2 separate regions of the Homo sapiens genome follow, and region 2 is linked to region 1. Evidence: promoter capture Hi-C in human tissues and cell types (Jung and others, 2019). All regions are on one chromosome and are shown on one strand. The core of a region is centred on a gene start or on the middle of the fragment in contact, and the rest is flanking DNA. Distances in the headings are between cores, read along the strand shown. Region 1 holds the start of GZMB (granzyme B). Region 2 has its middle 6.3 kb from the start of CTSG.

Region 1 (3,289 bases), core at 220-2,719:
TGCTGTTTCTTACTTCAGCAGCACCTCTGGAACCAACCTTCCCCTCTCTCCACAAACTTAACTGCCCTTTTCTCACCCTCTAAGGAGACCTCCTGGCATGTGTGTTCACAGGAGCCCAGGGAGCTCCTTGGGAAGAAGGCAGGGGTCTCTGTGGAGTGTTTCCAGGAGGGTGTGGGCTGTTTTCTGCTCCTCACCTTCCCCAACAGTGAGCAGCTGTCAGCACGAAGTCGTCTCGTATCAGGAAGCCACCGCACCTCTTCAGAGACTTCTGATCCCAGATCATAAGATAAGCCATGTAGGGGCGGGAGTGGGGCTTGGCCTCATGTCCCCCGATGATCTCCCCTGAAGGAAAAGTCTGTCTGCTTGTGGGCACCCATGGAATCTGCTGGGTGGGCACCTGCTTAGTGGCTCCAGAACTCCTGGGCATTTGGGAGCCTGGGATAGCCTGGAGTTGGGAGTGGCCTGGAGGAAGGGGCTTCAATTTCCTGCTCTGAAAAAGGGAAGAACAGCAGACTTTGGTCTGTAAATCTTTCTTCCATATGTAGTTGAAGGCGAGCATACCTGTCTTAGGGACAGTGAAATCCCAGAGGCTCCTGATCATTCCTCTCCTGACTTTGCTTTGTTTCAGGTGAGTTTCCAAGACCCTTATGAGTCCTGTGGTGTCTAGGATAGTGCTGCTTTCTAATGGCCAGGGTGTAAGTGGAGGGATCTAGATACTGTCATATCCTGTTTCCTAGAGCCTGACATGTAGTGGGTGCCCAGTAAATGTTCATGGCTGCATGATGGACTGGCTCCAGTTAGCCTCTGGATGAGGGCTGGTAGAGCAGTGCTGGTGGAATTCTAGAAAGCAGGGAAGCTGGGGCCTGCCGTAGTGCCTCATCCTTGGAAAGAGGGGAGCCACCAAAGGCCAGGGAAGAAAAGCAGAGTTGGAGAATGGGACTGAGCAAACACATTAACAGTGTTCTGAGGACAGTGATTGTACCAATTCTGCTGTCAGCTGAGCTCTGGGTTTCTCTCCTAAGTAGACAGTGAGAGAAGCACCTGTCTTATCCCAGAAACAGAAGCCAGGCCTACTCTAGAATAATTTAATATTTCTCTTTTCTAGTTTCCCATCCTCTGCCATTTACTTCTAGGAAAGTCCTACTCTCCAGGTGACAAAGGTGGGCTCTGGGGAAGGGATAGTACCCACTGGCTCTTCTTGAGAATGGCCTGCTGCTCTGCCATTCCTGCTGATAGCTTATCCAGCATCACACTTGGGGGGTCTTGGTAGAATGGGAGCTGGAGTTCAGAACATTCCTGGTAGATAGATGGATCAGGAATGTGGAGAAAGGGCAGGAGACCTGTGGGATGGGGTTGGGCCCCCGAGGGTGGAGACGGTCACTCACCTGCATCTGCCCTGGGCAGCAGGAGGAAGGCCAGCAGAAGCAGGATTGGTTGCATCTTCTCAGGAAGGCTGCCCTGGTTGGAGCTGCTGTTGTTTCCTCCTTGCTCTCTTTTAGCTCTTGGGAGAGGAAAGAGGTGGAGCAGGCTCAGTGACTTCATGTTCCCCTCTGGTTTTGTGGTGTCTCATCACAGATTTTCTGTAAATGCTGCCCACCCCCACTGCCTCTGCCTGATGACGTCCTCTGGGTGCTTGTGTGAGAATCATGCAGTGACCACATCATCACCCACAGCTGATGACTCAGAGTGGACCACCTATTCAGCCCAGAGCAGGAACCCAAGCCTATGAAGTGAATTGTAGGATGTGGTATCAGCCAGTAGAGGTACTGGAGCACCAGAAACCTGAGTTCCCAGTGATAGAACCGCCAATGCCTCATGGCCATGCTGCTAAATCCATCAGGATAGTTTCTTTAGCAGGTATGTGTTTGAGCCCTTCTGTTGTGCTAGAACCAAGCATGTTGGAGATGTGTCTCCTTCACTTAGAGAGCTGACCATCTGGTTGAAGAGACGGAAATGCCAGGAGCCAGAGTACAGTTTGGGGAGGGCTATGGTAGCACAATACACAAGGCAGTAACAAAGCATGGCCACCATCTACTAGACCCATCTAGCAACCCATTTATTATCATAGCTTCCTTTCTAGAGAATTTCTAACATCCCTTATTTAGTTACAAATGTTTAGTGTGAGAGTCCACCTCTTTTCTGAATGCTTTCAATAAAAGTCCTGTACTTGACATTTTATTGGGCTAGATTAATGAATTGCTAGGAGTCAAATCCACTTTGGGTAGGCTGGGGTCAGTCTACTCAAGCCACTAGAACCAAGAATGAGAAAGGGCTGGTTCTCTAAAGGACGTTTGTGGTGCTAAATTGCTGATACCATATGAAGTGAGGAAGCATGCCAGGCAGCCAAAGATCAGTAGTTGTGTTGTTTAGTATTCTGTCTCCTGTCCAGAGAGCCACACTTCTTACATAGCAGGCTCAGCACATAACAGGCTCACAGTAAACATTTGCTAAACAAACTACACTAATGCTATCATTATAATGGATGTGAAAGATTGTTGTTTCTGAACAGCCCGTGCCCAATTCTGTTAAAAGACAACTAAGTCTCTCTACATGGTTCGATTCTTGTGATTTGTTTCCACCTTTATATTTTCTGTGAGGAAATTTTTCTATGAGGAATGGTATATCTCAAAATATAGAATTCCAGTGTAAACGTCTTCCTTGTCAATAGCAAGCCAACTACATTTATCAAACTTCTATTTTTTGAACCTAGCTTGCCCCATAGTAGACGTTTTAAAAATAATTTTTTCTGATTATAGTCATAATATATGTTTGTTAAGAAAATTTGGAAAGTAGGAAGGGAAAATATCACTTTTTAACCTGTCTCCCACAGACTGACTGTTACCATAAGCAGTGTGTTTTAAATACTTGGGATCACATTGTACATACAATGCAATTTATTTTATCCTTGATTAACCCTACAAATTAAGCATTTTCCCCATGCTCGTAGAAATCTTAGTCAATACAACTATAGTCTTTCTTTCCTAGGCATTAAAAAATTTAATATGCAAGTAATTTTTAAATAATTTTAGCAAAGCGAAAATAATAAACATTACCTAATTTCTCATCATTCACTGATAACCATCTTTAATGTCTTGAAATATGCTCTAGCACATTTTTTCTCATGTAATATCTGCATTTTTTAAAATTAAAAGGGGATTATGCTAAACATAAGTTTATGACCCATTTAAAAAATTGAGGTAAAATTCACATAACATACAATTAACCATTTTAAAGTATTCAATTCAGTGACATTTAGCACATTCAAAATCTGCAACCACCACCTCTGGAT
Region 2 (3,227 bases), core at 176-2,675, 64 kb before region 1:
CACCTGTAAAGGAAACCTTATTGAACTAACAGCAGACTTTTCAGCAGATACCTTACACAGGAGAAGAGAATGATATGGTATATTCAAAGTACTGAAAGGAAAAAATTGTCAGTCTAGATTTTTATTTTCTGCCAGAATAAGCTTCATAAATGAAGGAGAAATAAAGTTTTTCCCAGAGAAGCAAACACTGAGGGAAATTGTCACCACTATACCAGCCCTAAAGGAAATGCTCAAAGGGGTCTTAAACATGGAAACAGAAGGTTGATATTCACCATCACAGAAACAAATGAAAATATAAAACTCATAGGTCTTATAAAACAATCACACAAAGGAGGAAGAGAAAAGGATCAAATGGCAACATGACAGAATTTCATCAAACCACAAAGAGAAAAACACAGAGAAAAAAAAAAGAAAGAAATAATTTATAAAACAACTTGAAAACAATTAACAGTGACAGGAATAAAGCTTTACATATCAATATCAACCTTGAATGTAAATGGACTAAATGCTCCACTTAAAAGATATAGATTGGGCCGGGCGCGGTGGCTCACGCCTGTAATCCCAGCACTTTGGGAGGCCGAGGCGGGCGGATCACGAGGTCAGGAGATCGAGACCATCCCGGCTAAAACAGTGAAACCCCGTCTCTACTAAAAATACAAAAAATTAGCCGGGCGTAGTGGCGGGCGCCTGTAGTCTCAGCTACTTGGGAGGCTGAGGCAGGAGAATGGCATGAACCCGGGAGGCGGAGCTTGCAGTGAGCCGAGATCCCGCCACTGCACTCCAGCCTGGGCGACAGAGCGAGACTCCGTCTCAAAAAAAAAAAAAAAAAAAAGATATAGATTGGCAGAATGCATTAAAAACATGACTGAACTATATTCTACATACAAAACTCATCTTACCAATAAAGACACACATAGACTCAAAGCAAAGAGGTGGAAATAGATATTCTACACAAAAGGAAACCAAAAGTTAGCAGAAGTAGATATATTGTATCAGATAAAACAGACTTTAAATAAAAAGCAGGAAAAAAGACAAAGAAGGTCATCATATAATGATAAAGGGATCAATTCAGCAAGAGGATATAGCAGTCCTAAATGTATATGCATTCAACATTGGAGCACCCAAATTAATAAAACAAATATTACTAGACCTAAAGAGGTGGCAATACAATAATAGCGGGAGCTTCAACATCCCACTCACAGGACTAGATAGATCATCAAGACAAAAAATTAACAAAGAAACATTGGACTTAAATTGGACTTTAGACTAAATGGACTTATACAGAACATTCTATGCAACAACTACAAAATATACATTCTTTTCATCAGCATATGGAATATTCTTCAAGATAAACCACGTTAGGTTATAAAACAAGTCTTAACAAATTTTAAACAATTGAAATTACCTCAAGTATCTTCTCAGACCACTGTGAAATAAAGGTAGAAATCAATACCCAGAGGAACTTTGGAAACCATAAAAATACATGGGAATTAAACAACATGCTTCTGAACAATCACTGGGTCAAGAAAGAAGTTAACACAGAAATTAATTTTTTTTTGAAACACATGAAAATAAAAATGCTATATACTAAAACCTGTGGGATACAGGAAAAGCAGTGCTAAGAAGGAATTTTATAGCATTAAATACCTACATCAAAAAGTAGAAATATTGAAAATAAGCAACCTAACAATGCAAACTAGAAATGCTAGTTTGACAAGGAACTAGAAAAGCAAGAACAAACCAAACCCAGAATTAAAAAGAATAACAGAAATAACAAAGATCAGAGGAGAACTAAATGTAATAGAGACCAACAAAAGTTTACAGAGGACCAATGAAACAAAAAATTGGTTCTTCAAAAAGATAAACAATATTGACAAACCACTAGCTAGACTTACCAAGAAGAGAAAATCCAAATAAACACAATCAGAAATGAAAAAGAGACATTAAAACATGCCACAGAAATACAAAGATCATCAGAGACTATTATGAACAATTATATACTTACAAACTAGAAGACCTAGAGGAAATGGATAAATTACTGAAAACATCTCCTGAGATTGAACCAGGAAGAAATAAAACTCCTGAACAGATCAATAGTGAGTAGTGAGATTAAATTAGTAATAAAAATATTCCAGCAAAAAAAACCCAAGACCAGCTGAATTCTACCAAACAAAGAACTAATACAAATCTTCCTGAAACTATACCAAAAAATCAAGGAGTAGGGAATTCTTCCTAACTCATTCGATGAGGCCAGTGTCACCCTGATACCAAAACTAGACAAAGATACAACAAAAAAGAAAACTACAGACCAATATCCCTGATGAATCTAGTCATCCATGACCTTCTTTGTACTGTTGAGTAGCAGTTTCAGGCAACTGCAGAATCTTGTGGAGCAACACTTGAGATTCTGGAGTAGAGAGAGGTTTCTCATTTACATGTACATGTCAGACACAGTCCTGGCCTTGCAGGTAGGGCCTCTGAAGGCTCCACATGGAACGGGAAGAGGCAGAGCTCAACTCAGAATCTTCAGATTTTCCATCTACACAGACTCTTTCTTCTCTGCTCCCCCTTCTCTGGCCTTTGGTTGTTTGAAAAGGAAAATGGCTTAGTGTGGGTGAATGGGTGCGTGTGTGTGTGTGTGTGTGTGTGTGTGTGTGTGAGAGAGAGAGAGAGAGAAAGAGGAGAAAGACTTTCTCTTTCTGAAATATCATCACCTGACCCAATCCTTCTCCTTTTTGCCTTAGCTGTTGGGTTGGGGGAGAAGTTCCCAGTGAGGTTTCTGTGCCTGAGCTTACCATAATTTTATGACTTTCCATTCAAGTTGATAAGGCTTCTAACGCACAAAGTCTGCACGTGGAAAAAGAAAGAATTGTGTTCTTTTGCACTGGTTTTCATTGTGCAAAATGCTTTCTTGCCAAAGTTCTGCTGATGAGGTTTACTCAACAGGGAAGAGTGCAGATTTGTTAGAAGTGGTGGATCTGGCTTCTGGGATGGTCACCTTCTGGAGGTGAGTACCCTGGGGTCTGTAGAGACCTTTTCAGTAGGGCAGCAGAGACAAAGAGCTGCCTTGGAAGTGCTGACTGGCAGAGAAAGACCTGAAGATGAGATGAATGCCCTCGGGGCTTCCTGGGGACTGAGTCCTGAGACTGGGCAGTGCTCTGAGGCCCTAAGTAAATGCCACAGGGAGGAAGGGCTGAATGGGGGACTTTTCTACTAGCAAGTATTCT

Evidence for each region. The method cuts DNA at HindIII sites, captures the fragments that hold promoters and counts their contacts. A contact is called where the count stands out against the background at its distance.
Region 2: a fragment that was not itself captured here is called in contact with the fragment with the promoter of GZMB in region 1 in 7 of the 25 tissues and cell types used here (H1 embryonic stem cells, adrenal gland, bladder and 4 more).

Annotation. Positions count from the first base shown.
Region 1 is chr14:24,632,721-24,636,009 of GRCh38, forward strand. GZMB (granzyme B) reads right to left here and starts at 1,470. Exons shown (of 5, transcript NM_004131.6): 1 at 1,386-1,470; 2 at 195-342. The coding sequence starts at 1,440. GZMH-AS1 (GZMH and GMZB antisense RNA 1) reads left to right here and starts at 382. Exons shown (of 3, transcript XR_007064087.1): 1 at 382-628; 2 at 1,576-3,289. RefSeq lists an enhancer at 849-2,048. The HindIII fragment of the contact is 16,614 bases long and covers 1-3,289 here.
Region 2 is chr14:24,568,315-24,571,541 of GRCh38, forward strand. No RefSeq gene overlaps it. Among named protein-coding and RNA genes, the nearest start is that of CTSG, 6.3 kb to the right of the region's middle. The HindIII fragment of the contact is 6,762 bases long and covers 1-3,227 here.